Linked DNA regions of Homo sapiens: regions 2 and 3 are each linked to region 1. The links are contacts of gene promoters, found by promoter capture Hi-C in blood cells and fetal thymus (Javierre and others, 2016). All regions are on one chromosome and are shown on one strand. The core of a region is centred on a gene start or on the middle of the fragment in contact, and the rest is flanking DNA. Distances in the headings are between cores, read along the strand shown. Region 1 holds the start of ATP5PO (ATP synthase peripheral stalk subunit OSCP). Region 2 holds the start of C21orf140 (chromosome 21 open reading frame 140). Region 3 holds the start of TMEM50B (transmembrane protein 50B).

Evidence for each region. Contacts are between HindIII fragments. The CHiCAGO score rates a contact against its expected background, and 5 or more counts as called.
Region 2: the fragment with the promoter of C21orf140 here is called in contact with the fragment with the promoter of ATP5PO in region 1 in 8 of 17 cell types (naive B cells, total B cells, naive CD8 T cells and 5 more); the score reaches 11.7 in naive B cells.
Region 3: a contact is called between the fragment with the promoter of TMEM50B here and the fragment with the promoter of ATP5PO in region 1, in 1 of 17 cell types (fetal thymus). The highest score is 6.6, in fetal thymus.

The regions. Positions count from the first base shown.
Region 1 is chr21:33,914,554-33,918,088 of GRCh38, forward strand. ATP5PO (ATP synthase peripheral stalk subunit OSCP) reads right to left here and starts at 1,251. Exons shown (of 7, transcript NM_001697.3): 1 at 1,175-1,251. The coding sequence starts at 1,210. RefSeq lists enhancers at 1-308, 823-1,432. The HindIII fragment of the contact is 2,999 bases long and covers 1-2,902 here.
Region 2 is chr21:34,399,520-34,403,054 of GRCh38, forward strand. It overlaps C21orf140 (chromosome 21 open reading frame 140), which reads right to left and starts at 1,553. Exons shown (of 1, transcript NM_001282537.2): 1 at 593-1,553. The coding sequence starts at 1,553. The coding sequence ends at 798. The HindIII fragment of the contact is 9,278 bases long and covers 1-1,577 here.
Region 3 is chr21:33,478,296-33,481,830 of GRCh38, forward strand. It overlaps TMEM50B (transmembrane protein 50B), which reads right to left and starts at 1,679. Exons shown (of 7, transcript NM_006134.7): 1 at 1,543-1,679. It also overlaps the pseudogene RPS5P3. The HindIII fragment of the contact is 5,416 bases long and covers 1-3,535 here.

The DNA.
Region 1 (3,535 bases), core at 1-2,500:
CATTTAACTCAATAACAACAAAAAATTTTAAATAACCTTAAAATCATTACTTTTGTCTCTTTGTATATTCACATATTACATGAGGGTGAGCTACTTACTATTACTAAGGGGTAAACTTACCCAATGAGGATTATGCCAAGTTGCTTGGGAAATCACCTTCCCACGAACCTCCTAGTTTGCTAGGAATGGACCGAGGCTAGCATACCCGTAAGACAGAAAAACACTAACTTCCAAGGAGTGCATGTTTCAAAAATATTTAACCAAAATTTTGGCGTTTCTATTAACAGACCCTTGAGCAGATCATTTGCAACAGACGTACCCTCCTCGGAATGCAAATGCTATCTGAAAATAAAGATGAATTTTTTGAGTACTGCCGCAGAGTTTGATCTGACAAGAAGCCTTAGTTCTGAGAGACACTATCCTGCCCATCAAAAGACAGAGCTGGAATACACAGTTTAAAAATCACCTGCAAGCGCACAGGTCACAGATCACAGGTCACCTTCAAATACTCCAGCTATGGAACGTGTTTTATCAAAACTGCTTGTGAGGATTAAGACTTTTTAATGCTTATGAAAAAATTACCTAAGATGCCAGGAAGGGGTCATGATATGTAAAGCACCATGGTGAGATGCAGCACAAACAGCATAACATTTTTTCAAACTCGATCTTCTGGGTGATTCCGTGGGTTCAAATCTCAATTCTACCACTTACTGACTGAGCAGCCAAAGACTCATTTAAACTTTTCGGCCTCATTTTATTTATAAAACTGTGAAATGTGTTTTACAAATATTCCTTAGCATTACTAGTAAGTGATCTCTGACAGGTTTTACCACAATGGCAAAGGAAGCTGATTTGGGGGCTAGTCCATGCCCCTTCCCCGGAATTCAGCGAAGGGCAGACCCCCTCTCCTGCGCCCCTCAGGCTAGCAGCTTCCAGGGGCTGTGCTCGGAAGACGCCAAGGTTACGGCACGCGCAGCCCCGCGCCTACTGCCCCGTAGGCATCCCGGGGGACAAACGCTGGGTCGTCCTGAGTCGCTCCCACTCGCCAGGTCCCATAACCTTGAAGACTGCCAGACTTCCCCAGCCGAAGCATCGCACCCTGGTGCTCGAGGTTTGGTACCGGTCATCCCAGGAGGGATCCTCCCACTGGCTCTCAGGACCACCTTTCTCTCACCTGCCGGGAGAGCCCGGACACTGCTGGGGCAGCCATCTTCTCCCGGGCGGCTGTAGGTCAAACCCGAGTGGGAAGAGAGAAACGCGCAAGGGCGCACGCGCGCGTTGGCGTAACCGCTAGGTTCTCTGGGAAGTGTAGGCGTAGGGCGTCAGGCCGCAGGCGCAGAGACCTCCCTCGGGCTGGGAGTTGTAGTTCTTAGCAGTGGTAAGGGCTGGACCCTCGGGGTGGAGCCACAGGGCTTCGACTGCATCTGAAAATGAAGTCATTGTTACTGGCCAAGCGGCGCTCACTGTAGAATGGATTTGCTGTCCCCAGTTTTAAAATTTACATTTAGATAAATATGGTGGCATTTGTTCCATTTCACAGTTATTACCAGCGTCACTGGCTTCTTTACACTTCCTTCCCAGCATGCTAAAGCCTGCATCAATGGCTTTTTCTCACGTTGCATACAAAGACAAAACCAAAACAAAACAAAAAGCCCCCAGGAGCCTTGCAGCTCCAGGAGCGGACACCACGTCTCTCTTACCTGGGCCATGACTACCCATTGTTAAATAAAGAATTATTCAGTGATGCTTATTAAAGCATGATAAGGAAGACTTTATTCAGGACCATAGCGATGGGTATAGGACCAGTGCAACAGGGTCTGGGAGTGGGCAGAGAGATTGGGCTCAACTCCGAAAGCAGAATGGGCAAATGGGAATTTATGGCCAAGGAGCAGTGCGGGGGTCAGTGGATAGAAAATTACTTAGAGGAAACTGGGGTAAGAGGGATTCTGGCTAAAATGACCTAGAGGAATCTTGTAGAAGACAGGCCAGGGTGATCAGACATCACCTGGGGGATGGTGAAGGATGAAGACCCTGATCAGATATCAAAGATGATCGGTTGTCGAAGATTGGGGGTTCTGGCTAAACTGACTTAGCAGTTTTGCTAAAACTGGACTTTACAAGGAGGTGCATAGATAGGACTACGAGAAGGTTCAGAAGTCTCACTAAAGTTTGGCCAAGCAAAAGCAAAGAATCCCTGTGGCCCTCCATTCCCCTCCCCTCTCCCCCATCTCACCTGAGTATAGAACTGAGCTGTTGGTTTGTGAGGGCATATGGGATTCTGGTACCTAGATTCTTGATTCTGGCTAGGGCAGAGTGGCTATCTGAGCATCAGGCCTAAAATAGGAGAACCCGGGTTTGAGCAAATTTGATATTGAAACTGAGAACTGGGTACTAGCCTTGGATATAGTTTGTCTGCATCCATAAAAACAACCTATCTTCAACCCATTCTCTCTAAATAGAACTTGGTCGAATTTTCTCCTCTGTCAGAGAAGAGACTGGCTGGCAGAGCAAGGGTCAGTATTCCTGGTTGTAATAGTGGGGGTTCTGTAATCAACTTAAAAGAAAAATTCTCTGCTCAGATTTATTATAGAAACACGTTAATTCACTATTTTGCCCTTTTAGAGAGCAGTTTTCTCATTATTACAATTTTTATTTTTTGAGACAGAGTCTCGCTTTGTCACCCAGGCTGGAGTGCAGTGGCGTGATCTCAGCTCACTACAACCTCTGCCTCCTGAGTTCAAGCGGTTCTCCTGCCTCAGCCTCCCGAGTAGCTGGGACTGCAGGTGTACACAACCACACCCGGCTAATTTTTCTCTTTTTAGTAGAGATGGGGTTTTGCCATGTTGGCCAGGCTGGTCTTGAACTCCTGACCTCAAGCGATCCGCCTGCCTCAGCCTCCCAAAGCTTAGAGGTGTGAGCCACCACACCCAACCCCCTAAAAACTTTTTAAAACGTAGAGAAAGATAAAGAAAGTAATTGTCCTCTTTTCTTCCACTCGGAGGCAATTGTTGTAAATATTTTGGTGTCTTGTTTCTCAATATTTGTTTAGGCTGTGGCCTGAACTACCCTGGCCTGAATCCCAATCAGTTCCTTGGCCCAATTATATAACTTCTCTGTGCTTCAGTTTATTATCTATAAAATGGGTATTATAATAGTATCTGCCTATAGGTCATTAGAAGAAACAAAAAGGTATACATGTAAAGTGCTTAGAACAATTGCCTGAGAGAGTGGTGCTTATTAATTTAGTCTTTTTTTTTTTTTTTTGAGACAATGCCTTGCTCTGTCACCAGGCTGGAGTGCAGTTGTGTGATCACGACTCACTGCAACCTTGACCTCCTAGGCTCAAGCAATCCTTCCACCTTAGCCTCCCCAGTAGCTGGGCCTACAGACACATGCTACCAAGCCTGGCTAATACAACATTTTTTTTTATTTTAGAGATGAGGGTCTCACTATGTTGCTCAGACTTGTCTCCAACTCCTGGGCTCAAGCAGTCTTCCCACCTCAGCTTCCCAAGTAGCTGGGACTACAAGTGCAC
Region 2 (3,535 bases), core at 303-2,802, 490 kb after region 1:
GTTGTCCCAGCTGCAAGTGGCTCAGCTACAGGGTCTCGAGATGAAACTCCACGGCACAGTCTAATGACCTGCTGGAATTCCTGGAGTTGGCGGGGAGATTGGCTGGATAAGTGGTCTCTGCAGACCCCCATGCGTGCCACCCCTTTGCCCACCATAGCCCACTTGAACCCACCACTGTCATAACTTTCCAGGTCCTAACTGGGACCACCTACTCCCCTTGGAGGGTCCGGATGGAGTTTCCCCTCTGCGGCTGCCTCTCACTCATCCTCCACCACTTTGCCGACAAGGAAGGAAGGACAATCGGGAGGAGGGAGTCTTGCTTGGCGACCATCTGGACAATATCTCGCCCATGGCAAGCTGGATCCCTGTGGATTACTTTGGTGGGTGGAAACTTGGCACACTATTTAATTTGGGCTTTTTGGGGGATGACTGCACACTGGTTCTCTTTTTTTCTCAGACCTAAATTTCGACCACTCAACTTTCAGCCTGCTCACCCCTGCTTATTGCCATCCACCTTTGGGCTGGGTTAGACCTAATCCTCCCCTTGACAAAGCCCTCAAAGTAGCCTTCACAAGATAAGAGTCGAGACCCCTAACTTACCAACAAATTTTAATGAAACTTCTAGTAAACTCAAAGCGCTTTGCCAACATCCTTAGGAGCAACCCAGTTCTCGCAGCACCCCATGTGAGGTCGCTGTTGAAGTATCTTTGGCTGCAGTGGTGTGGAATTCATCTCAACAGAGTTGACGGTAAAGACCAGACATGTAGCAGCCTCACTGCTTGTTGGAGGAACCACCCTTAAGAAAATTTCCCAAGATAGTAGTTTTCCCATCTCCGTACTTTGCTAGTTAATGTTCTCCACTTGCTTGCGTTTATCCTTTCAATTCCTTTGCTAATTAAATTGCTGAAAAGTATACATTGGTAAGAATAGCCACTGTCAATGGACTGCAAACAAAACTCGTTTCTGTTATTGATGATAAACCATTTCAGAGAAGACCAGGCTGAGTCTAAAGGGTTCAGATAATTACAAGGGGAAGGCAGAGAGAGTAGTTCATGGCCACAGGACTTGGCCACCTCTGGGCAACACATAATGCTTGCTAAGCTAATGACTGTAGGGATATAGAACTGGCCCTCAGCCTCTCTGTCTTCCTTTGGCCTCTGCTCTTCCTGCTGCCTTCTCTCTTTGACCACGATGACACACTTTCCATAGGCCTTCCTCACCACATCACAGAACTCAGAGAAGAGGCTGTCTTCTTGTTTGATACACAGCTCGTCTCTTAGGAACACCCGATATTTCCAAGGCACCCATCCTTGACTACCCGCAGCATGCACAATACACCAAGTTGGGGTTTGTATGAAATATCCATCACTAATATCTTCCCCAGTTACGAGACTTTCTGGGATATTGGTTTCCCCAAAATATACGGTCTTAAATCCATCATATTGCAGTGTTCTCAGGGTTTTCAGATATTGGAGGCATTGCTTCCTCTTGATGCCATCAAATTGACTTCTGATAATGACATTTCTTAAAAGAGGGCTTGCAAAGCGAGGCATGGTGGCTTCTCAAGTGTTTTTAAAAGCTTGCACATCTGCATCTGGGGAGAGATGGCAAGTGGGGGATGATGACCTCATAAAGGGCTTTCTTACAGTGGTGCCAGTCCCACACATACACTTCAGATTTCAAGCATCATGGAATAAATACTCAGAACAACTCCCTGCTGACCCATAAAATATGGGAATTGCAGATGCTACCCATAAAAATGCTACTTTGACATCACTTCTGCAATAGGTCTGAGACAGAGGTTGGCAATCTTTTAATAGTAATGAGCCTACCCATTTGGCTTAAGATGGGGAGAAATGTTTACATTCATTCATCCATTTCAAAAATATGTACTGATCACCTGCTGTACACCAGGCATTGTGCCAGGCACCAGGGGTATAGTCATGACACACCCAGGGAGTCCTGGACTTACGTGTTGTGTGTCTGTGTATGCATAGAATTTGTGCCAGTTGCCTTCCCATTTGCACAACTAAGAGTGATTTTTTCCAGGTGGCAGAAGGAAGGTATGGCAAATTGCAAAAGAAAGTCAGTCTGCACACCTAGCTTCCACTGGCGCTTGCAGGTCTTTTTTTTTTTTTTTTTTTTTTTTTTTTTCTGAGAGGGAGTCTCTCTCTGTTGCCCAGGCTGGAGTGCAGTGGCACGATCTCGGCTCACTGCAACTTCCGCCTCCCGGGTTCAAGTGATTCTCCTGCCTCAGCCTCCCGAGTAGCTGGGACTACAGGCACCTTCCACCATGGCCGGCTAATTATTTGTATTTTTAGTAGAGATGGGGTTTCACCGTGTTAGTCAGGATGGTCTCGATCTCCTGACCTTGTGATCCGCCCGCCTCGGCCTCCCAAAGTGCTGGGATTACAGATGTGAGCCACTGCGCCCACCCGGAGCTTGCAGTTATTGAACTAATTCAATACCTCATCTTGAAAGCACTTTTAATTTTATATACTCAGGCAAAATGACAGTTTGCTTCAAACTCTAACCATCTCTTCCTTTGTATTTTCTTGCCTCTTTAATCAGAGCTAAAGACATTTCATAAAATGGGCATGAAGGATTCCTTCAAATGAAGACGTGGACAAAATGATTGGTCAGGTCCTTTGCTCTACTGTTGAATGGAGGAGGATTTTTTTTTTTTTTCCCTCACACAGGGGTTTTCTTGGAGCTCAAGTTTGGATGACCCCAGACAGTAAGATAATCTCATCATGGTAAAGTTAATATGAAATATGTGGTCTCCAAACAGCCTCTCCCAGAGGCCAGGATCAGCAGGTTTGAGTGGATAATTGGCTTGTGGTCATTTTCTCATAGGATTTTTCTTTTAGTAGTGGAAACTGTTTTTCAAATCAAATTTGGATGCCAACTATGTGGAACAGAAGTGTGGCTGCTCTGGTGGAAGTGGCAATGGTAGTCCTAGAGTCTCCCTGTCAGCCACACCCTTTGTCTCCCCCTACCCAAGGGACCCTGTGGCCTGGAACCGCAGTGTGAAATGCTATATAGTGCAATGAAGTCAATTCGAAGACAAGAGTTCTTTGCCTTTCTCATCTAATTTTTAGTTATGGATATGAGACGCTTGTTCAGAAGTATGGAAAAGTATATATAATATGTTATCTTTTAGATGTGGGTGTAAATATGCTTATGTATGCAATATGCTTATATTTTAACGCATAAACAACATGAATAAAGCAAACACTCTAGACTTCTCCAAATGTATCTTGTTTTACAGTTTTCATTTTGGAAAATGTCAACATTTTTACATTAAAAAATATTACTCAGCCATAAAAAAGAATGAAATCACGTCTCTTGCAGCAACATGGACAGAACTGGAGGCCATTATTCTAAGTGAAATAATTCAGAAACAGAAAGTCAGATGCCACATGTTCTCACCTTTAAGTGGGAGCTAAATAATGTGTACACATGGGTACAGAATGTAAAATAATGGACTTCGAAAGGGAGGCTGAGATGGGAGGACCATTTGAGGCCAGGAGTT
Region 3 (3,535 bases), core at 429-2,928, 440 kb before region 1:
CTCTCTACTAAGAATATAAAAATTAGCCAGGCATGGTGGCAGGCGCCTGTGATCCCAGCTACTCGGGAGGCTGAGGCTGTAAAATCCCTTTAACCCTAGAGGTGCAGGCTGCAGTGAGCAGAGATCGGGCCACTGTACTTGTAGCCTGGTCAACGAGGGAGACTCTGTCTCAAAAAAAACAGAAAAGGAAAATGAGGATAAAATACGATAAATTCTTTACCTTGGCCCCCAGAAGTGAATTCAGAATTCAGAAAAGACTAGCCAGTGTAAGGCTGCTGTAACCCTAGTTGACAGAGAGGAGGGATTGGGGTGGTGAGTGGGAAGGCTGTGTCTCCGGAAGAAGAAATATACGTCCCCACCTCACTCTAATTAAACCTGCTTTTCCAGCGCGATAAATATTCAAGATAACTTTTGGTTTGCATTTCAATAACAAAGTCTTGCACCACTATCTTCAGTTTAAAAAAAAAGTTTAATGTTTGCTCTACGTTTGAAATGCATGCAGGTTTAAAAGACAAGAAACAAAATGATGAAAAAGTGTGACCGGCCTGAGAGTTCAGAGCCTCTGAAGTGTCAAGGGATCCACAGTGCAGGTAGGATGAAGAGTCTGAGAAGGGAGATGGGATCCTCCGAAAAGAGAAAATCGGGTCTTACAGCGCGATGTAAGACGATGCGGATGCCACTTCCCTCCCACCCCGTCCCGTCCGAGGCCTCCGCCCCCTGCCCCTCCGCACCCCCCGACCCAGGCACGCGCAGCGGGGAGCAGCCCAGCCTAGCCCGTCTCACTGCTTTGGTTTTGAAAGGTCACGTATTTACCTTAGAATTTCAGCACCTTCCAACTTACTGTTTTAAGTACCTTTAACCAGCCTATTGGCTAAAAACCGAAACGGTCCTACCCGCGACTACCACTGCTCCAGTGACAATGCTCTGCTGCTACTTATTTAACGGAGCTCAAGGTTTATAATTCTCGAAAGAATGTTGTTCCCCTTCCCTTTCCCCTCCCGCCTCTGTACTTGACTCTCGTAAGAATGAAATCAGAAAAGTGCAGAAAACACAGGCTCCTAGCAATGGTTCGGGGCAAACGGGAGGGGCGAAGAAGGGCTGGAGCCGCCCCGGGGCCCTCGCTCCGGCCTCGGGAGGGCGTCGCGGCCGCAGCAGGGCGTCCCGAAAACCGTCGCCTCCGTGCCCGCCGCGCGAGAAGGTGAAAGGCACGAGATGGAGCCTCTCCAGCCCTCCCCAGGAACGCAACCTGACGGCGTGACAGCGCGGCAGGGCAGCCTCCCCGGGCTGCTTGCGGGTCGCGGCGGCGCCACGGTCACGGTCGGCCCGAAGGGACGCGGGCAGGGGCAAGAAGGGGCGGCGGGGGCTCCGCGGGCCCGAGTCTGCAGGCCGGCGCCGAACGCAGGGAAAACCCGGCTGGACGGCCCCACAGCCCCCAGAAGGCCGGGCCGGACAGGGCCCGACGAGGGAGCCTCCTTACGCGCGGGCGGCGGGCGCGAGCCCTCTACGGTTGCCTGGCGCCGGAGACCCACAGACAGGACTCACCCAGCTTCCTCAAACGCCCACGCCGACTTCAGGCGCGCGCGCAGGAAGGAGACTGCTGCGCCACAACCCTGCCGGCGTCCCGCGGCTCCACCTCAGCCCCGGGAGCCCGGAGCTGGGAGCAGACGCGAGGATAGAGCGCCGGTGAGGCGGGGCGAGGCGCCGTGTGCACCGCAGCGACCAATCGGAGCGCAGCAAGTGGCCGGCCGGGGGCGGGGCGGGACGCGAGGGGGCGGGGAGAGGGCGTTGGCTGGGCGCAGCGGGACGCCGGGCGCTCCTCGCGACCAATCGGCGTGCAGCAAGTGGCCGGCCGGGGGCAGGGCGAGCTCCGAGGGACGGGGTGGGCTGCTCTGCAGGCCTCCCGGAGCCGGAGTTCAGACCCAGCTATCTACGGTTCCGGGCAGAGCGGGACGGGCCTCTCCTGTCCCCTGCCGGTGGGCGGCCGCCGCCGGGCTCCCACTGCTGCGTTTCTGCACGCTGACTTGAAGTGCAGTACCGTGAGATTACGTGCGGACGGAGCTCGAGACCCGGGGGACCAGGGTTTCCCTTCGCCTATGGCCGATCAGTCTTGTCTGTCTGCGAGCTGCCCAGAGTAGGGAAGGTGCTCCGGGAGGGTTCTCGGGAACGGAGGGTCTTTAGAGATGCCTTTTTCTAATCCCCTCAATTCAGAAATGGAGCCCCAGAAAGTTGAAGTTAGTAAACCAGGGCTACCCAGCGAGTGCTGGTTACCCGAGGTGATCCTCACAATACAACTAGTCTTCTGATTTCGCTCGGCGCTCTCCCGTCTATTCACGTAGATTTTTGTCTTTTTTTTTTTTTTTCGTCTTTCTTATAGTCAGATATCTTTCAGCCTCTTGGATTTTCAACATAACTTTAACAGCGTTTGGAAGCCCCGTCTAAATTTCCTACAGAAATGCCTATAACCATTTAGTTGTTTGGGGGAAAGTCGAGCTTTGTTTTTTGGGTGGTTTGTTTGTTTGTTTTGAGACAGGGTCTTGCTCTGTTGTCCAGGGTGGAGTGCAGTGGTGTGATCTTGGCTCACTGCAGCCTCTTACCTCCCACGCTCAATCAATCCTCCCACCTCAGCCTTCCGAGTAGCTGGGATTACAGGTGCGCACCACCATGCTTGGCTAATTTGTGTATTTTTAGTAGAGACGGGATTTCACCTGGCTGATCCTGAACTCCTGACCTCAGGTGATCCACCCGCCTCTGCCTCCCAAAATGCTGGGATTACAAGCGTGGGCCACTGTGCCCAGCCAAGTAGAGTTATTATCAGTGGAAATCTAAAAAGCATTTTACTTGAGGCATAATGAAGTAAAAGGTTTTGTATCATGGAATTATCACCAAAAATGCCATCCTGGATAATGTTCTCCTATAGCTCTTATACATGGGCTAGGATCTAGGTGTTCAATAAATATGTGCTGAATAATTTACTTTTGAAATATGTCACAATGCTGGCATTCCACCAGAAGAGAGGATACAGAAGGGAACACTCTCCTCTCTTTAAGAACCTTTTGAAAGGGGCGGGGGTTGCATGTACCATTTTTGTTTTCATTCTGCTAGTAAAATAGTCACTTGACTACACCAAATTGCAAAGAAGGCTGGAAAATGGGGTTTCAGTACTAAGGAAGGAAAACTAGATATTAGGGGACAATTAGAAGTTTCCAAATCTCATCACTTTTTTTGGGGGGGTGGGGGAGGCATCCCAAAGGGCAGACTGGTTTATTAGGCAGCAGCCAGGAAAATCAGCGGTTGGACTTGTCCCCACACTCCAGCTCATCCTTCTTGTTGATGGCATAGGAGCTGGAGGAGGCCTTGGTGGCATTGATGAGCTCATCCGCCAGGCACTCAGCAATGGTCTTGATGTTCCAGAAGGCAGCCTCACGAGTGCCTGTGCACAGCAGCCAGACGACCTGATTCACACAGTGCAGTGGGGACATGTCCACAGCCTGTTGTCTCACAGTCCCTGCTCGCCCAATGCATGTGGAGTCCTCCC